3 separate regions of the Homo sapiens genome follow, and all the other regions are linked to region 3. Evidence: promoter capture Hi-C in human tissues and cell types (Jung and others, 2019). All regions are on one chromosome and are shown on one strand. Each heading gives the region's core, a stretch centred on a gene start or on the middle of the fragment in contact. The rest is flanking DNA. Distances are from core to core; before and after follow the strand shown.

What was found. Contacts are between HindIII fragments. The study calls those that stand out against the background at their distance.
Region 1: a contact is called between a fragment that was not itself captured here and the fragment with the promoter of PURB in region 3, in 1 of the 25 tissues and cell types used here (heart left ventricle).
Region 2: a fragment that was not itself captured here is called in contact with the fragment with the promoter of PURB in region 3 in 1 of the 25 tissues and cell types used here (spleen).

What each region holds. Positions count from the first base shown.
Region 1 is chr7:45,194,409-45,198,486 of GRCh38, forward strand. No RefSeq gene overlaps it. Among named protein-coding and RNA genes, the nearest start is that of RAMP3, 39 kb to the left of the region's middle. The HindIII fragment of the contact is 6,228 bases long and covers 1-4,078 here.
Region 2 is chr7:44,511,092-44,515,260 of GRCh38, forward strand. It overlaps NPC1L1 (NPC1 like intracellular cholesterol transporter 1), which reads right to left. Exons shown (of 19, transcript NM_001101648.2): 19 at 1,444-2,558. The coding sequence ends at 2,356. It also overlaps the pseudogene RPL36AP27. Among named protein-coding and RNA genes, the nearest start is that of NUDCD3, 23 kb to the left of the region's middle. The HindIII fragment of the contact is 7,316 bases long and covers 1-4,169 here.
Region 3 is chr7:44,883,995-44,888,019 of GRCh38, forward strand. It overlaps PURB (purine rich element binding protein B), which reads right to left and starts at 1,536. Exons shown (of 1, transcript NM_033224.5): 1 at 1-1,536. The coding sequence starts at 1,354. The coding sequence ends at 416. RefSeq lists enhancers at 608-1,567, 1,716-1,965, 3,563-3,662 and silencers at 1,026-1,075, 1,366-1,725. The HindIII fragment of the contact is 10,196 bases long and covers 1-4,025 here.

The sequences.
Region 1 (4,078 bases), core at 1,521-4,020, 310 kb after region 3:
CTCAGGCCCTCAGGGCCTCGGACCAGGCTCCATGACTGCAGGTATCAAGCTCAGCCGGGTGTCCAGTTTCCACCTGGCTGGTGCCCACTTTTCTGGTCTGGGGCAGAGCCACCCAGAAGTTGGTATTTTTTACAAGCTCCCCAGGTGATTCTTAAGTTTGAGAACTACTGCAGACTTACGATACTCACCCTGGACTTAGTGTCCCCAAAAGGAGGGCGAGGGTTAAGACTTTGAAGGAGGAATGGGTGAGGGGTGTGCGAATGATGGGGTGGGGCGGGCAAGATTTTTCTGGTGTGGGGAGAAGCATTTGCAAGTTTCAGCCTCTGTGATTTCCACCTTAGAAGACCACTGTGACCCCTGTGGAGAATGCAGGATGCAATGCAGGGCAAGGAGGTTGGGGGGATCTCAGGGAGTCCAAGGGAGACCCCAGCAGGTGTGCTGGTGTCACAGTGCGGGGTGCAGAGGGGTGGGTTGATGGTGGAGGAGGGAGGGATGAAGGTTATCTCCTGGGCCTTACTGTTTTCTGAGATGGTGAAGACCAGACAGGAAGTCTTCCAGTCCAGAAGGTGCTCCAGCCACAGGATGCGATGACATAGGGCAGTGAGGGAAGCCAGCAGGGCAGTTGGACCGCTGAGTCTGGACCTTGGGAAGGTTTGGGCTGGATGTGGACATTTAAAGCCATGGGCTTTAAAGAGCACAGAGCTCACTTGGGGCCGAGGCCCGAGGCTGGGAAGAGGAGATGCAGCCAGCAGGACAGGAGGGGCTGAGGCCCTTGTTCTTGAGTGGAGGCTGAAGTGGGTGAATCTGGGGGCTTGGCTTAGAGGGAGGGGGCAGAAGAGCTGCCCAATTTCTGAGAGATCCTTTCTCCCTTCAGGATGTCAGTTGGCTGTCATTTTGCCTGGAATGCTTGGCTGCAGCCCGCTGGACTAGTGTGTGCGCAATGGACCGGCAGCCTCCTCTTAGGGTTGACTGCTCTGGTGAAAAGGCAGGTGACCCACAGTGAGCTCACAGGGTGCTATGACTTCTGGTCTGGGTGGACAGTCTATGGAGGGTGAGATGCCTTCCCTCTGCCAGGACCAGCAGAATTAGAGAGCACCTGCTGGATGCCTTCGCAGAGTCTGTGCTGCAGATGAGGACATGGCCCCTGAATGGGAGGGAGATGACTCACCCTACTTCTAACTTTGCAACAATAAAAATGATGAGAGGGGGACATGACAGAGATGATGTTAACAGCTTCAGATTCCACATTTGGGCATCCATAGTTTGGACATTTATCTGTACCTTTAAATTTAATAGTGGGTCCTCAGACTCCAGAGTGCTGTTTAGGGTAACATGGTTGATTGACTGTTCTAGGGTTAATCAAAAATAAAACTACCTCCAATGCGGTATTTTCATACCATTTTTTGAATCATAATAAAAGTAGTCAGGGCATCTAGTTTTGAAGCTTCCGGAACCCATTTGTGCATTTGTAAGGGTCTTGAGAATTTTATAACAATGTTGAAGAATGTTTTATTGTGTTGCAGCTTTTCAGAAATGATTTTTTTTCTGGGACAAAGCTTGGTTTAGGAACAATGTTCCAGCAAGTCCTATTCAGCAGTAGTCATGGATCTAAGGTACCATTTATTGTAAAAAGTATTCAAGTACAAAAGGGACAAAAAGATGGTTTAAGGTTAGTTCTCTTAAATCATAAAGATGTCATCTTCTTGGCCCCTGGGTAAGGATGACCCAACAGGATTTACTGCTATCTCTGATGATCAGGTAATGTTGAACTTGTTGGGAGAATGCAGCGTTTCTGGGGGTTTTGTCTGTGAAGATGTTCTGCTGGAATTAAGCTCCTTGGTAAACAGCTCCAAATGGTGAAGCAGGGTCTGAAGGTCAGATCATGGCTTGAAGGTCAAGGTAGTGGTTTATCATATGCCAGCTGGTATCTGCCCTCAGCTGTATTATCTAAGAGTGTGAGAGGACTTTTCCTAAAAAGCCACTACCTCTTCATTGTCATTTATCCACCTGTCTACCATTTGCAAGTGGCTCACTTCCGGCAGGGGAAACAGTGATGTCCACTCATAACTGAACTGTGCTGTGGTAGGAACTAGGTGGAGGGGTGAGCAGGGCTGTATGACACAAGAGGACTTTCTCAGGCTGGCTTCTGTTCATTCTTGGGTTTCCATGTGGGTGGAACTGAGTCAGTTTCAATCACTGTGTTGGGTGATATTTACTGGGTGCCCACGTTGTGCTGATTCTGGGAGGACATCTCGGTTATTGTCATCGTGGTTATTGAGGCGCGGCTTTCCATGCAGGTTCCCTTCCTCTGAGGAGTTGGGCTTGCGTCCAGCTGGACCCATTAAAAGAATGTACATCCCTGTGAACTGGGTGCACAGTGAGGTCCTAAGGTGCATTCCTGTTCCTCTTGACATTGTAAATTCTTGGATACAGCTTCCAAGAAAAGGACCAATAGCAGGAGGGACCACACATTCTGGCTTGTAAAACAACAACAACAACAACAACAAAACAAAAAACTACAATCAACCTAAAATATTAAAAAAATGGAGGCCAGGTGCGGTGGCTCATGCCTGTAATCCCAGCAGTTTGGGAGGCTGACGCAGGTGGACCACCTGAGGTCAGGAGTTCGAGACCAGCCTGACCAATATGGTGAAACCCTGTCCCTACTAAAAATACAAAATTAGTTGGGTGTGGTGGTGCATGCCTGTAATCCCAGGTACTCGAGAGGCTGAGGCAGAATCGCGTGAGCCCAGAGGGTGGAGGTTGCAGTGAGCTGAGATTGCACCGTTGCACTCTAGCCTGGGCAACAAGAGCAAAACTGCATCTCAAAAAAGAAAAAAGAAAAAAGAAAAAAGAAAAAAAAAAAAAGAAATGGGGAAGGCTGTGGGGGGCTGGATGACCACGGCAGGGACTTGGCTTTGGTCTGAGTGGAGCTTAGTACATTCTTAAAAGCAAGTAACTACAGAACAAAACCACTAAATAAACTGAAGCCAGTACCACCAATGATGAGAGTGTTCCATGAGATCAGAATGATGAGTCCAGTTCTGGAGGTGTTATTGAACTGAACTGGGTCTGTTCACCCAGTGCAGTGAGGCCAAACTTTCACATCAAGGTTTGCAGTGGGAGAAAGGACGGTATTTGTTTTCAGGGTGCCCAGCAAAGAGAATCAGGCAGCTCATGTTTAAGACCTCACTTCCCCTGTCTGCAGGTTTCTTGGCATGAGGAGGGGGACTGTCCTCACCATGTGTGACTGTCTTGCACTGGCTGCAAGACATAAGCTTGACCAACTGTCTGGGATATGGCTCCCTGACTGACCAGCAATCTTGAACTGACTGTAGCTCCAGATCTATCCACTTGTAGCTGAGAGATGCAATATTTATAAAGAATTGCTAGAAGGCAACATCTATGCCTCTTGATATCCAAAGATCTACCTTCATTACGCCAGACCAGCAAGACTGTCTGGTATTATTAATAGCATCTCTGGGGCTGATTTGTGTTTTGGTATGAAGACATTTGCTTCTTTTTAGAGACATATAAGAAAGAGCCCTTGTTTACTTATTGCTATGTCTCTAGTAAGGATAAAGATATTGATTTTGATAATCACTCAACACCCTCTATCTAAAGATCTGTAGTCCCAGCACTTTGGGAGACCGAGGCAAGCAGATCACCTGAGGTCAGGAGTTTGAGACCAGCCTACCAGCCTGGCTAGCATGGTGAAACCCCATCTCTATTAAAAATACAAAAATTAGCTGGTCATGGTGGTACACCTGTAGTCCCGGCTACTTGGGAGGCTGAAGCAGGAGAATCTCTTGAATCTGGGAGGTGGAGGTTGCTGTGAACTGAGATTGCGCCACTGTACTCCATCCTGGGAGACAGAGTGAGACTCTGTCTCAAAAAAAAAGAAGAAGTAATAGTAGATCTGAATGGTGCCGGTATTAAAGAAATCGAATTAATAAAAAGTTTTCCTAGAAAGAAAACTCCAGAGCCAGATGGTTTCACTGGTAAATTCTGTCAAACATTTAAGAAAGAAATAACACCATTATTTAACTAATACAGCAGAAGAGGAAAGAATGTTTTT
Region 2 (4,169 bases), core at 1,333-3,832, 370 kb before region 3:
GCCAGCATTCTCTTAGATCTGCAGTTGGGCTTCATGCACTCAAAACTTAGCACAATCTTCTTTGTAGTTTTAGCCTTTTTCTGGAAAATTGGCTTAGTCTCCCCACCATAGCCCCTCTGCTTCCTGTCATAACATGGCTTTCCCTAGGCATACAGGGAAATGTGTCCTGTGTCACTCTGTGGGGCTGGTGCTTCCCACACTTCTTACAGAAAGTCCAGTGGGTTTTAGGAGTGTTCACCATGTTTGCAGGAGCACTATTGGCACTCTTTGTGTTTTCTTGATTTTATTTGCTGTTAAATATGTTGCAACTATTTTTCTGAGCTCATATGTGTCTTTCAACTTTCTTTAATTTTTTGTGTGTTTTCAGATGTTTTCCATTATTATATGGTCATACCTTAGTGTTTACCTTTATGGCTTCTGGACTTTGTGCTTAGGAAACTTTTCCCCCTCCAAGATTATAACATACTCTTCTGTGTTTCCTTCCGATAGTTGTATAGTTTCATTTTTGTGTTTAGTGCTTTAATCTGTCTGTACTTTTATTTTGTGTATTGTGTGAAGTATAGATATAACTTTATTTTGATCCAAATAATTTGCTCACTACTCTCACACCGTTTACTGAAGGATCTACCCTTTCCTCTGATTTGAAATGTCTGCTGTCAAAAGCTATTTTGTTCCTCAAATCTATCTGTTTATTCTGCACCTGTGGAGTTTTTAACAGGGTGAATTGTGCGATTTCTCCTCAGCCTCTATTCCCTCGTAGCTGTCCCTTCACCAAACCTCCTGTCCATCATGGTCAGCCAGCAACCCTCCCAAAGGTGGGCTAATGATGCTGGCACATGGGGCTCTTATGAGGACCCAAAAGTAGATAGTAGGCTCCAGAAACGCCAGCTCCTTTCCACCCCTTTTTGCTTGTCTTCCCTTTACATGCTGACAGTCCCTCTGAGCCTCAAAGCAACAGCAGCCCCTCAGCCAAACAAGGGCTGGACCCAGCATGGGGCAGAAAGACTCGAGGGGATCTGGAATGTTCCTTGACATTTCCACCCACTGCCCTGGCCTGGGGCCCTCCTGGGAGCTGGTTGTTTGTACGGTGGGTTCTTCCCTCCTTGAATGCACCGTGGTTCTCCTGTAGCTCCTCCAGGTGTTGCCTACTTCACAGTCTCTTCCAGAAAAGGAGGGGCTGCACATCCTACTCCTGACTGACTCTCAGGCTCTGTGCCCTCCCAGTTTGAAGAGAAATTACTCCCACTCCTCAAAGGCCCTTGTAAGGCATGAGCACACAATGGCCTGGCTACTTTCTTGAAAAGAGGGAGGAGAAATAGAACAAAACACAGACTAGTATCTCCACAAATCACTCTCCCACACATGTATTATTTGTGTCATTCACAAAAATTATCTTAAACCGAGAGGAGGAAGCCAGGGTAGGACATGTGACATAAAACACCATTTCTGCCAACAAATGTTTATTAAACACCTATGTGCACAGCACAGAGCCAGGATCTTCATCTCCACTGCAGTTCATGCTTCTGGAGAGCTGTCCAAAAGCTCGGGTTGGGCTGGTTTGAGGCCTGGGATCCAGGCCCGAGGTGAAGATGGGAGGACCAGCCCAGCCCCAAGAGCTCCCAGCCTTCAGACTCCTGGGTGGCCTTGACTGGCAGCAACAGCCTTAATAAGTATTGGAGCTGGAGACCAAACCCAACACCATTTTCCAGGAGGGGCTAATCCATGACCAAGGTGCTTATGAGAGCATCCTTCCTGGGCCTTATGAGAGCATCCTTCCTGGGCCCTTCTCTTGCCAGAAAAGGCCGTGGATGGCAGACCTGCAGGTGCGCCCTGGAGGGAGTGGCTGCCGACCGGCCTCCCACAGCGTTGGCTCTTGGCCTGAGCCTTTGCCTCTCTCTGGCCTCCTGTGATATCACACCCAGGGTAGTGGTCATTGTCTGTGTTCTCAGGGACACTGCTACGTGTTAAAGACTTACTGACACAGAATTAAGACTTTCGAGAGAGGAACTGAGAAGGGAAAAGTTGGATGAGAAGTGGGCTCCTAGGAAAGTGAGTGAGTGTGGGACAAACATGGAGTGTGTCTGTTCCTGCCAACTTCCAGACCCAGGCCCAGGAGGAGGCACTGCCCAAGGCCTAGGTGACTTGGAAACTGGGGACCCACTATGGGAGCAGAGGAGCCATCAGTGGTGCTGCCTGGATACCTCAAGAGCAGGCCATCCTCCAGTGACAGGCAGTCTCATGGGAATGGCCTCCCCTAGGATTTGAGGAGGGCGTGTGTCAAGGGGCAGTCACAAGGAAGATCCCCATAACCCTTTGGTTCAGGGCCATAGAGCCTAGACAGGGCCTCTGGCTGTATCAGAACTGCCGCCCATTGTTGGGCAAGAAGTTGCTGATGGCACCAGCACCTTTGATAGAACCTTCAAAGCTGTGGTTGACATAGATGTTGTCAGCTGTGGAGACTCGGGAGGGGTGATTTGGGCAAGAGGCCACCATGACTGCTGCCACCGCCTCCTCAGCCCGCTTCTGCTCCAGTGCCAGAGCCGGGTTAACGTCAGGCCCTGCGGAGAGACAGAGAACCACAGTCAGAGAGGTGGGCAGGGGACACAGGTGAGAAGCTATTCCTGGTTCTGTACAACAAACCCAGGGCAGGAAGGGTCCCAGGGGGGATCTGTGCCATGTGCCTTCCAGGGTCACTATGTTCACAGCCCAAGCTTCAGGGATGTCCTGGTCCCTCCATCCCCCAAGCATTTTGGGAACCTCCAAGGAATAGCCACCACCTGCAGCTCCAAGGCCCTGGATATCCTTTGTCCAAGCACACCCCACGACTGCTCCTCCTTGCCCCTCTCTTATGTCTCATCCACCACCCCCAGCGCACACACTCTACTCCTTCCAAGAGGGTCAGGGAGTCCCCACAAGAGACATGGTTAGGAACCACAGAGCTGTGTGGGCTCCAACCCCTACTACCTTTGACCAAGTCTGTAACCTGGGGCAGGTGTCTCAGTTCCCTCATCTGTAAAATGGGAAGGATAATAATACCTGCCTCGGGGGTAGTAAGAGAATTACAGACACATATGTTGATGCACAAACACACCCCTCTATAAATGTCCTCTAATAATATTATTACCATCTGGTGGGAGGTAAAATTGAACTCCTCCCAGCTTGCCCACCCTGAGAGCCAGAAACACCTTCATCCTGGGAGGCTCAATTTGAGCTTCCATGTGCCTCAGCCTCCCAAAGTGCTAGGATTACAAACATGAGCCACCACTCCTGGCCAGCATTTCAAAATATTAATGAGACCGGGTGCGGTGGCCCACGCCTGTAATCCCTGCACTTTGGGAGGCCAAGGCAGATGGATCACCTGAGGCCACAGGAGTTCGAGACCAGCCTGACCAACATGGTGAAACCTGTCTCCAATAAAAATACAAAAATTAGCCAGGTATGGTGGCATACACCGATATCCCAGCTACTCGAGAGGCTGAGACAGGAGAATCGCTTGAACCCAGGAGGCAGAGGTTGCAGTGAGCTGAGATTGCGCCACTGCACTCCAGCCTGGGCAACAGAGAGAGACTCTGTCTAAAAATAATAAAAATAAAAATAATTAAAATAATTAAAAACAAATTAATGATAGGGCTGGGCACAGTGGCTCACGCCTGTAATCCCAGCACTTTGGGAGGCCTTGGCGGTTGGATCACCTGAGGTCAGGAGTTCGAGACCAGCCTGCCCAACATGGTGAAACCCCGTCTCTACTAAAAATAAAAAATAAATAAATAAATTGGCCAGGCGTGGTGGTGCGCACCTGTAATCCCAGCTACTTGGGAGGCTAAAGCAGGAGAATGGCTTGAACTTGGGAGGCAGAGGTTGCAGGGAGCTGAGATCATACCACTGCACTCCAGCCTGGGCAACAGAGCGAGACTCCATCTCAAAAAATAAAAATAAAATAATGTAAAGTAAAATAAAATAAATAACAAATTTAAAGTAAAATAAAAGCCAAGCGCAGTGGCTCACACCTGTAATCCTAGCACTGTGGAAGGCCATGGTGGATCACTTGAGCTCAGGAGTTTGAGACCAGCCTGGGCAACATAGGGAGACCCCATCTCTACAAAAAATAAAAAATTAGCTGGGCATGGTGGTGTGCACCTGTGGTCCCAGCTACTCGGGAGGCTGAGGTG
Region 3 (4,025 bases), core at 286-2,785:
TTATGCCAGATTACCCAGGTGCAACCTAAATGCAACTGTTATCAATGGTCTGGGTAACTTGGACATGTTTCTTGCCCTGGATGTGCAAGGATCTATTCCCTCCAGGGATTATCCTGATGGGTTTACGAACCTCAGTTGAGAAACAACAGAAGCTGAGACAATTTTACGCAGGTGAGGAGATGCTGTTTTCCTCTTTGCAGGTTGCTGTCAGTTCCTTGGAACTTGACTGCTTTTCTCAAGTTGTCCGTCACTGTTCTCTTACGATTATTTCTCTTAACTGTGTTACGTTTTGTTTTTTCCCTCTGCGGCCTCCCTTGCTCCCTCTCCACTAGCTCACTGGGGATGAGCAGGAAAGGGAATTCTCTAGCCAAGGGGATGGTGGTTGGGTGGAGGCCTGTAGGGGAAGCTGCCCGTTTCAATCCTCATCCACCTCCTCACCCTCTGACTCTTCGCCGCCGCCGCTGCCCCCACCACGTCGCTCATAAAGCTTATCCCTCTGTCGTTCCTGGATTTCTTTCATCTCATCCGCATACCGGCAAAAGGCGCCTCCGAACTTGCCCCAGGCTTTGAAGGGTACGGTGATGGCATTGCGGTAGGACGGCTTCACCTCGCTCACTCGCAGAAACACCCCGTATTTGTTGCAGCCCACATCGAAGAAGAAGCGCTTGGAGTCCACGGTGATGGAGGTGCCCTCCGGGAGCTCTCCATACAGGCCGCCCCCTGGGCCCCCGGCGCCGCCTCCCGGGCCGCCTGCCAGCTCGTCGTCCTCGCCTCCGTAGTCGTCTATGAGCTTCGCCAGCGCGTCGCGGAACTCGATGAGGCCCTGCGCAGGCAGCGCGATGGTCTGGCCGCTCTGCAAGCCGCCCGGCCCGGGGCCCGCGCCGAAGCCGCCACCGCCGCGGTTGACCGTTTGGCGGATGCGCAGGAAGCGGCCGCGCTGGTTCTCCTTGAGGTCCAGGTAGTACTTGCGGTTCTCACGCACCAAGAATTCGCTCTTGAGCGCGCGCCGCGGCCCGCCGCCCTCCTCGGCGCCAGCCGCCAGCTGCTCGGGGCTGCTAGGGCCCAGCTGCGCGTAGTGTTCTATGAAGTCGCCCAGCGAGTCGCGGAACTCGGCGGCCACCGCCATGGACAGCGTGAGGCGGCTCTTGGAACCGCCCGCGCCCACCTCGGCGATCTTGAGGAAGCGGCCCTTGGCGTTCTGCTTCACATCTAAGTAGAAGCGCTTGTTCTGGATGTCCAGCCGCTTCGAGGCCAGCTCCTGCGTCTCTTGCTCGCCGCCGCCGCGGGACGCGGGCTGGAACCCGCACGGCCCACCGCCGCCGCCGCGCTCGCTGCCGCTGTCGCCGTCCGCCATCTTCTAGGCCGCCGCCTCGCCGCCACCGCCCGCCGCGCTCGCGCCCCCGCCCTCCGGCTCGCGCTCCGGGGCCCCCCAGCCTCGCCCGCCCGGCTCGCTCACGCGCTCCCGCCGCTCATCGCCGGCCGCCGCCGCCCCCCCATCGCCTCCGCGCCCCGCCCCCGCGACTTCCGTGCAGCCCTAGCCACTTCCGGCGCGCGATTTCCCGTGAAGTCACTCCGTCCCGCCCTCCGCGGCCTCGCGGCCGGAAGCGCCGCGGCGGCGTGGCGCAGAGGGGTGACGTCAGGGGCCGCGCCGGGCGGGCGGCAAGCTGAGAGTAGGCTAGTGTTACTGCTCGGTTTCTAGCCCTGGGGACTTGCCAGCCTTAGCGTGACTCAGCCGCCCGCTGCGTCTGTCTACGCGCCTCTTCCCGTGACACTTTTACTTTAGACTCCGGTGTCGTCCACTTCCCTCCTTCTCGCTTCCGGGGCGTTAGCTGAGCATACTCAGGCCCCAGCCTGCTCGCGCTGGTTGTGTGCTGGGAACAGAGTTCCAGTCTATACACTGGCGACCGGGGGGAGGGAGATCCTTTGGAGCACTCGGAAGCGGGTTCTGACCAGCCTGTGGGGTTCCCTAGAGGAGGCATGAGCTGACTCTGAAGGGCAAACTGCAGTTGGCCTGGCAACTCTGGAGAAGAGCCACCCAGCATAGGAGACGGCAGTGCAGAGGCACCCAGGGCCTGATGCTGGGAGCTCAGAGCAGCTGGGGGTGTGTATGCCTGAAGAATGGTCGTAGATGACACTGGAGGGTGGATTAGATCAAGGAAAGCCATTTGCAGTGCGGGAGAGTTAGTGCCTACCCCAGAGTCTGGAGCCACCGTATGTGATCAGGTTCACATTTTGGAAAGATCACTGTGGGAACAATATAGAAAGAAGATGATTTAGGATGAGGTTAGATTTGGGATCCAGAGATCAGTTAACTGTCCCCACAGTTAGCCATATTAAAGTGGTTAAGGAAATTGACTGCCAATCTTTAGTTTCTTTATCAATAAAATGAATAATTCCTATGAGGTCTTTTTGTTGTAAGCATTGAGGTGTAACAAGAGGCAGAATTGGAATAGTGTTAAAAAGTGTAGGCTCTGCAACTGCACTGGGTTTGAATCTGTGACCTTGACCAGTTACTTGATTTTCCAAAGCCAAAATGTCCTCATCCTTAAATTTTTTTTTTTTTTTTTTTGAGTCTTGCTCTGTCACCCAGGCTGGAGTGCAGTGGCGTGATTTTAGCTCATTACACCCTCCACCTCCCGGGTTCAAGCAATTCTCCTACCTCAGCCTCCTGAGTAGCTGGGATTACAGGCAACCGCCACCACACCCGGCTAATTTTTGTATTTTTAGTAGAGATGGGGTTCCACAATGTTGGCCAGGCTGGTCTTGAACTCCTGACCTCAGGTGATCTGCCCGCCTCAGCCTCCCAAAGTGCTGGGATTACAGATGTGAGCCACCACACCCAGCCTAAATGTAGTTATTCATAGATAGTGAATCCAACAATGGACTTGTAAAGAACACAAATAATAGATAACCCAATATAAAAGGTGAAAGATTTTAACAGACACTTCGTCAAAAAAGCCAGTAAGCACATGAAACAGTGCTCAACATTATTCATCATTAGGGAAATATAAATTAAAGTCAGAATGAAATACCAACTAGAATGGCTAAAATTAAAAAATGTAACATCAAGTGTTGAGAAGGATGTGAAGAAACTGGAACTCATACATTGCTAGTAAGGATATAAAATGGTATAAATGCTTTGGGAAACAGTTTGGCAGTTTCTTATATACCTTTCATAAAATAAGACCCAACATTTCCACTTTTTTTTTTTTTTTGAGCAGTCTTGCTCTGTTGCCCAGGTTGGGGTGCAGTGGAACAATCTTGGCTCACTGCAACCTCTGCCTCCTGGGTTCAAGCAATTCTCCTGCTTCAGCCTCCTAAGTAGCTGGGACTATAGCCATACCCAGCTCATTTTTTGTATTTTAGTAGAGATAGGGTTTCACCGTGTTGCTCAGGCTGGTCTCGAACACCTGAGCTCAGGCAATCCACCCACCTCGGCCTCCCAAAGTGCTAGGATTACAGGCGTGACCCACCGCAGCCAGCCTCCACTTCTAGGTATTTACCCGAGGGAAGTGAAAGTATGATCACACAGTTTGTATGACCCCATTTATATAAAAGTATATGAAAGAGGAAGGTGTGTGTGTATGTGTCTGTGTGTGTGTGTGTCAGAGAGCAAATCAGTAGTTGCCTGGGCCTGAATATGGAGGGACAGATTGGAAAGGGTAATACAAGGAAACTTTTAAGGGTGATGTATTCTGTGTCTTGTTTATGGTAGTGATTTCACAGATTTGCCAAAACTCATTCAAATGTAGTTTATTATAGAGAAATTAGACCCCAATAAAGTAATTATTATTATTTTGAAAAGACACGAATCAAAGAGGATGTTGGGGACAACTGCACTAAAAAAAAAAATACCTTGTAGGGTTGTTGGGCAGTAATCCTTGAAACATGTTTAGCGTAATGCCTGAATTACAGTGAGTGCTCAATAAATGTGAATTCGGGTGCATCCACATGGGTCAGTAGTAATTAGGTGTGGGAGCTGCCAGCAGGTAGGGTGGATTTGACATCAGTTTCCTAGAAGAAGG